Linked DNA regions of Homo sapiens: region 1 is linked to region 2. The links are contacts of gene promoters, found by promoter capture Hi-C in human tissues and cell types (Jung and others, 2019). All regions are on one chromosome and are shown on one strand. Each heading gives the region's core, a stretch centred on a gene start or on the middle of the fragment in contact. The rest is flanking DNA. Distances are from core to core; before and after follow the strand shown. Region 1 overlaps PLEK2 (pleckstrin 2). Region 2 holds the start of PLEKHH1 (pleckstrin homology, MyTH4 and FERM domain containing H1).

Evidence for each region. Contacts are between HindIII fragments. The study calls those that stand out against the background at their distance.
Region 1: a fragment that was not itself captured here is called in contact with the fragment with the promoter of PLEKHH1 in region 2 in 1 of the 25 tissues and cell types used here (H1 embryonic stem cells).

The regions. Positions count from the first base shown.
Region 1 is chr14:67,392,706-67,395,976 of GRCh38, forward strand. PLEK2 (pleckstrin 2) reads right to left here. Exons shown (of 9, transcript NM_016445.3): 3 at 2,697-2,878; 4 at 445-536; 5 at 1-144. It also overlaps a transcript of GPHN not described here. Among named protein-coding and RNA genes, the nearest start is that of PLEK2, 18 kb to the right of the region's middle. The HindIII fragment of the contact is 4,611 bases long and covers 1-3,271 here.
Region 2 is chr14:67,531,241-67,534,566 of GRCh38, forward strand. It overlaps PLEKHH1 (pleckstrin homology, MyTH4 and FERM domain containing H1), which reads left to right and starts at 2,050. Exons shown (of 29, transcript NM_020715.3): 1 at 2,050-2,158. It also overlaps a transcript of GPHN not described here and a transcript of TMEM229B not described here. RefSeq lists a silencer at 1,674-2,143. The HindIII fragment of the contact is 40,466 bases long and covers 1-3,326 here.

The sequences.
Region 1 (3,271 bases), core at 499-2,998, 140 kb before region 2:
GATCCCCAGAGCGAATGGCTCCCATGCTTCGGACACCCACAGGCCTGAGGAAGTTCTCCTCCATGAGCATGGAGGCCAGGGTCACCGCCTCCAGACGGCTGGCCGTGAAGCTGTTGGAGATGAGCCAGTCCACCAGGGAGGAGCCTGGCCAAGGGCAGCACCAGTCAGGCGATGGGTGATGGACCAGCGTCCTTGGGGTGTGTGGCCAATGACCTCACTGACCTTGGCCCTCTGGGCAGCCTCAGGGCTCTACGCAAGAGCAGACTGAAGGCCACACCTGCTGCATAGAGCCGTGGCTGCACACCCACACATGGCCATCTCAGGCTAGCCTGTTGCCCAGCAGGCAGCTCTGACCTCAATACAGGGCGGTCAAGCACACAGCTGAGCCCTGCATCACCATGTCCCAGCTTGACTGCCCAGCCCGGCCCTGGGGGACAGGCTCACCGAGGAAGGTCTTTTTATAGGTGCTTCCCTGCTCCATGTTGGGGCTTGAACGGATTCCGGTGTTGCTATCGTGCATCTTGTCCACAATGCGACTACATGGAAGGGAAGGCAAAGGAGAGGGAACCCTCATCACGCGGGCAGGTATAAGGGAGGGTCCTGAGTCACTGCTAAGGGTATAAAGCAAGTGGCAAATGGTGTGACACACATCACAAAGAAAAGGGGTGTAGGAAAGCAGCCTTTTGAATGGCAAGAGTGATGCCATCTTGAAGTGAAGCCGCCATGATGATTGATTTTTGTTGTTGTTGTTTTTTGTTTGTTTTTTGAGACAGAGTCTCGCTCCGTCACCCAGGCTGGAGTGCAGTGGCAAGATCTCGGCTAACTGTGACCTCCGCCTCCCAGGTTCAAGTGATTCTCCTGCCTCAACCTCCGGAGCAGCTGGGATTACAGACATTTGCCACCACACCTGGCTAATTTTTGTAGTTTTAGTAGAGATGGGGTTTCACCATGTTGACCAGGCTGGTCTCGAACTCCTGACCTCAAGTGATCCGCCTGCCTCAGCCTCCGAAAGTACTGGGATTACAGGTGTGAGCCACCGTGCCTGGCCTGATGATGGATGTTTGACTCCTGCATACCACGGTGTTCCCATAGCACGGCTCACCCCTCATAAAGATGTTTATCTAACCTCCCCAGTGGTCACAGGTTTCACAAGAAAGTCTGAGGCACCACTAGCTGCACATTTTCCCAAAAAAGCTTGCTATATAAAGGATATTTTCTGGAAGACAAGTGTGGTGATTCGCTGTCTCTAGGCCAGCAGGGACATCACTTCTGTTTGTAAGTCCCTATTAAATGCCTCTTTGTGAGAAACTGGAATTGTCAGCCTCTTTCTCCTGCCTCTCAGCTCCCCTTGCAGGTAGGTTTGTTTATACCTCCTCACCACAGAACAGGGTGTTCAGTTATGCCTCCAAATTTGAGAGGCAGGATTTTCAGACATTTCTTTTCTTCTCCTTATCTAAATGTTCTTATATTTCTATGCCAGACACACACTGCTTTTGTAGTAAAACCAAAGAGGTGTGACTTTTAACTTACAAACAAGAGTGTATGCTGGGCACAGTGGCTCATACCTGTCATCCCAGTGCTTTGGGATACTGAGGTGGGAGGATCACTTGAGCCCAGGAGGTCAAGGCTGCAGTGAGCCATGATCGAGCCACTGCACTCCAGCCCGGGCAACTGAGTGAGACCCTGTCCCCAAAAAAGAAAAACAAAAAAGCCCCAAGAGTGCACAGTAGCCCACATGGTTCTCTGTGATCCCCTGCATTAAGTCCAAACCCCCTCAGCTACTTTTCCAACTATCTTTAAACCCACCTGCCTACCCACCTTTATCTGCAGCTGATCCTCCCTGCACCCACCTAGACCCATAGGAGGTGTACAGTCAAGATTTCAGTGCCTGGTGGGGAGTTTTTGTGAGCCCAGGAATGGATTCATACATCTTTGATGGGTGTTAACAGTTCTTTTGCCTGGGAGGTTGGTGGAGATTTACTGTGGTTTGAATGTTTATCCCAAAACTCATGTTGAAAATCCCCAATGTGGCAATATTGAGAGGTGATGCCTTTAAGAGGTGATTGGGTCATGGGGGCTCTGCCCTTGTGAATGGATTAATGGGTTAAATGAATTAATGAATTATCATGGGAATGGGACTGGTGGCTTTATAAGAGGAAGAGAGATCGGAGCAAGCATGTTAGCATGCTCAGCCCCCTCACTGTGTGATGCCCTGCACTGCCTCAGGACTCTGCAGAGAACTCCCACCAGCAAGAAGGCCCTCACCAGATGCAGCCCCTCAACCTTGGACTTCCCAGCCTCTATAATGATAAGAAATAAATCCCTCCTTATGAGTTACCCAATTTCAGGTATTCTGTTATAAGTAACAGAAAACAGACTAAGACGAGATTTTGGGGGAGCTGTGACACAGCCCTGAGCACCCTGGCTGAAATGGAATGGGGGTCTTGTGTCATGGAGGTGTGCAGAGGTGGCAAGAGCCACGAGAGATCCCATAGGAATGGGGCAGGTAGGTAGGGCCACTCCCAAGCAGAGAAAATAATATACACAGGACAGGAACAGCTGAAGGCCCTGAAGCACCGTGGTGGCACCAGCCAGACTGTGCAGCAAGCACAGAGCCCCCCCAAGGGGCAGGGTCCCCTGCCCACCCAACACAGGCAGGAGAGGCTGCCACAGAGCCCGGCAAGTGGGGCACTCACTGCAGGCTGATGTGCGGGGGCAGCTTGAAGGAGTTTCTCAGGCTGTGCAGCTGCTGGACCTTCCCCGGCTGCCCTGCATGAATAGCCCCGGTGATCTCAAAGGCCCAGGCATCCCGCTCCTCTCGAGAACAGGCCTCCAGGAAGTACTCCGTGGATGTTTGAGTCTTCAGCTTAATGAGGAGCTGTGGGAAGAGAGAGCCAGTCAGGCCAGCACTCAGGCAGAGCAAGAGGACGCCGGGCAGCAAAAATGACGGGGCCCCGGGAGAATCTAGGTGACAGTGACTGCCAAATGCCCTGAGCCCTCGGCCACATAGCAGGTAGTCTTTAAAGATTCACTTGGACACCTCCAGTGACAGGAAGCTTGCGGCCTCACACTGCAGCCTTTCCCTTGTGGACAAGGTAGTTACTGTAGGGCCTGCCTCCTGGACACACTAGTTCTGTTCTCTCTTCTAGAACCACACAGATGAAGACTCACCTCCTATGACAGCCCCTACACTGAAGAGGGAAATGCCCAGGCTTTAAAATCAGTCCCATCTGAACACAAACCCCAGCTCTGCCACTTGGCTGTGGACTCC
Region 2 (3,326 bases), core at 800-3,299:
TGCATTCTAGCTTAGGCAACAGAGCAAGATCTTATCTCTTAAAAGAAAACAACAACAACAACAAAAGTTGTAACTTGCCCAAGTCACATAGCTAAAAAGTGGAAGAGACATAACTGAAACTCAAGCCTCCTAAATTCCTAATGTAGGGTTCAGTCCACCTCTACCACCCTCCCACAGACTGCCAAGGGGTCCTGCTCAGAGTTGGGCAATGGTGAGATGCACTCTATGGCCCCAAACTCATTGAAAGTAACAACTGAGCTGAAAAAAATGTGGAGTCTCTTCTGCCCTCTACAGAAGTAACCAGCTATAGGGGAGAGCATGCTCCTCCCATTCCACTCTCCATGGTGCGTCTCTTTTCACTATATAACAAAGTTATATTAAATGAGTTCTGGGCCGAGGTGCGGTGGCTCATCCCTGTAATCCCAGCACTTTGGGAGGCCGAGGCAGGAGGATTTCTTGAGTCCAGGAGTTTGAGACCCCACCTCTACTAAAAAAAAAAAAAAATTTTTTTTTTTTTTTTTGCTGGGTATAGTAGCATGTGCCTATAGTCCCAGCTGTTCATGAGGCTGAGATGGGAGGATTGCTTGAGCCCAGGAGTTCAAGTTACAGTGAGCTATGATTGTGCCACTGCAATCCAGCCTGGAGAACAGAACAAGAAGAACCTATGTCCAAAAAAAAAAAAAAAAAAAAAGTGAATGAATGAATTAATGTCTTCTTAGCAAAATCCAGAGAACGTGTTTTTGGGCTTCCTTATGCAACTTCTGGAATGTTGAAGTGGATAGCCTGAGCATTGTCCCACAAAATGGGGCTAATCTATCCCAATCCCCACGAGCTATAAAGCTGTTTGCAAGTTCAGCCATTGAAGTCCCATTGGCCCAGTTAAATTCTCACGTTTGGCCTCCTGCACTACCAGCTTTCCTTAGTGTCTGGGCTCTCAAAACTTCTACGTGAGAATGGCCTGGGGTACTTTAGTTAGAGATTCAGATTCAAACCCAGGGTGGGGGTGTTCTTCATGGTGCCTGGGATGAGTCTTCCAAGGACCATTTGGAGAAACAGGCGCTGATGGTATTTTGCTTCTGTTCAGTCCTTCACTGACAGAGAGCCTGCAGGGTTGAGGAAGAAGGCTCTGTTTTGAAGTGTGGATCCCTCCCTGCAATGGTCTCTATTTGCATCTTCTTTACTCCAGGCTCACCTAGCCAAATGTTGAGTTTTCCAACCCCTCTGGGTATGAGATTGCTTTGGGCGATCTGAGATCTGCAAATGTCTGAGAACGAGGAGCACATGGGCACGCTGATGACTGCCCTGCAAACTGCCTGGCAGCCAGGGTCCTCCTGGGCCCTCCTTTAAAATAACATATACATAAGCCGGCCTGGAGGCCCAGGCGGGAAGATCACTTGAGCTCCGGAGTTCGAGTCCAGCCTGGGCAACATAGCGAGACCAGAAAATAAGCAAGTAAGTTACTCTCTGGGCTGTCGTAACTTATTTTTTCTTTTTCTCCTGCAAATTGCAACTCAGAACATTTGGTCTGCCAGACTGAAATATGGACTTCTGTTCCAAATATCCAGACGTTACAGTTCCCACAGGTGGCCAGGAGAATGCTGGAACCTTTGGCGGAGACGGTCTGGTCTTGTCCCGCAGCCCGCGAGGGTCCCCCGCTATTTGGGGTCAAGCAGATCCCCGGGGCGCTCTGGCCACCCCTTGCGGCAGCTGGTGCGGCCTCCTCGGAGAGCTCCGGGCCGGCGCCCGGGACACCCCGCCGCCCTCCCTGCCGCCCCAGGGACGAGCCCAGCGGTGCGGAGAAGTGGGAGGCTGGAGCCTGCTGAGGTCATTTCCTGTGCCTCTCCGCGAGCTGCCTGGAGAGCTGAGCCCAGCGCTCTGCCTTTAAGGAGCGGGCGGGGAGCCGAGGGGAGGAGGGCGCCCGGCGGAGCGTTGAATGGGGCGCAGCAAGGCTCGGCCGGGCTTTGTGCAGCGAGCCCGCGGGCACCCCTCCCGCTCCAGCCTCGCCCCGCCCCGCAGCCCACGACCCCTGCTGCCGGGGAGGGGAGAACCGGCGGCAGCCCGGGACTCCGGCGAGAGCGACGCAAGGTCGGCTGCGGCGGCGGCCCGAGGGCGCCCGTGTGCCCAGTGCGCGGCGGGGACGGCCGCGAGCTCGCTGGAGGTGAGCGACCCGCGCTCCCGCCGCTGTGGTGGGCTGGGGCTGCGCCGCGGCGGAGGGCGTCAGGCTGCGCGCGGGGGACGGCCCCTCGGGCCCAGAGGACGATCCGGAGCAGGTGCCTCCCTACCTGGAAGCGAGCTCCCAGCGGCGGGGAGCGCTGGAGCGCGGGTCTGGCTTGGGAAGCCGGGCGCCCCAGGGGACTCGCGCCGCGAGGCCAGGAGGAGCCTCCCCCGGGAGTACCTGGACTTGGGGATCGGTCAGATCCAGCCGCTCCTGGGAAGGGCCCTCGGAGCGGACGTGCAGGCTGCCACCTTGCTATCGGTGCTCGCTCCCTTTCACCCCTTCCCGCACCCCTCCCCATCTCACCTCAGGTTATTTCTTCTGTGATTTCTGAGTGTTGTCTTTGGGACCCTATGGCTCAGGCTCGACTCCTAGGAGCAGGTCATTCAAGCAGAAAAGAAAACAGGTTGGGCGCCGAATGACACAGAGCATTGTGTCCTAGGAGTCTTAGCGAGGACTCGGTCACCAGGAACCAGGGGCCTTAGTGGGGGTGGCAGAGGCGGTGAAGAGCCTCATCTGGAAGGAAACTCCTCTCCTTGTGGGATTTCTGCTTGCCAGGATATCTCCTCCATAGCTTTTACTATGAATCCACCTCATAAAACTCTTCCAAGACAGAGCCTTGGTTCAGGTAAAACACTTGAAAGACCATTTAAAAAATTCAGTGGGAGAATTATCAGTTCCTTCATCAAACTGTTTGGACTGTCTTCTATGTGACAGACACTGTGTATAGGGCTAGTACCATCACTGAACGCTTTATAGAACATCGGTATTAGTGTTTCTGCATATTATTGGCCCCATTTTTCCAAAGGAGGAAGCTGGGACTCTGAAAAGTTGTGATTTAGGCCAGTTGCAGTGGCTTATGCCTGTAATCCCAGCACTTTGGGAAGCCAAGGCAGGAGGAGAGCTTGATGCCAGGAGTTCAAGACCAGCCTGGGCAACATAGGGAGACCCTGTGTCTACAAATAAATAAAAATTTAAAAATTAGCTGGGTGTGGTGGTGTGGGCCTGTAGTCCCAGCTAACTTGGGAGGCTGATGATCCTGTCTGTTAAAAAAAAAATTGTTGTGATATGCCCATGGTCACATAGCTAAAAAGTGGAAGAGCCATAACTG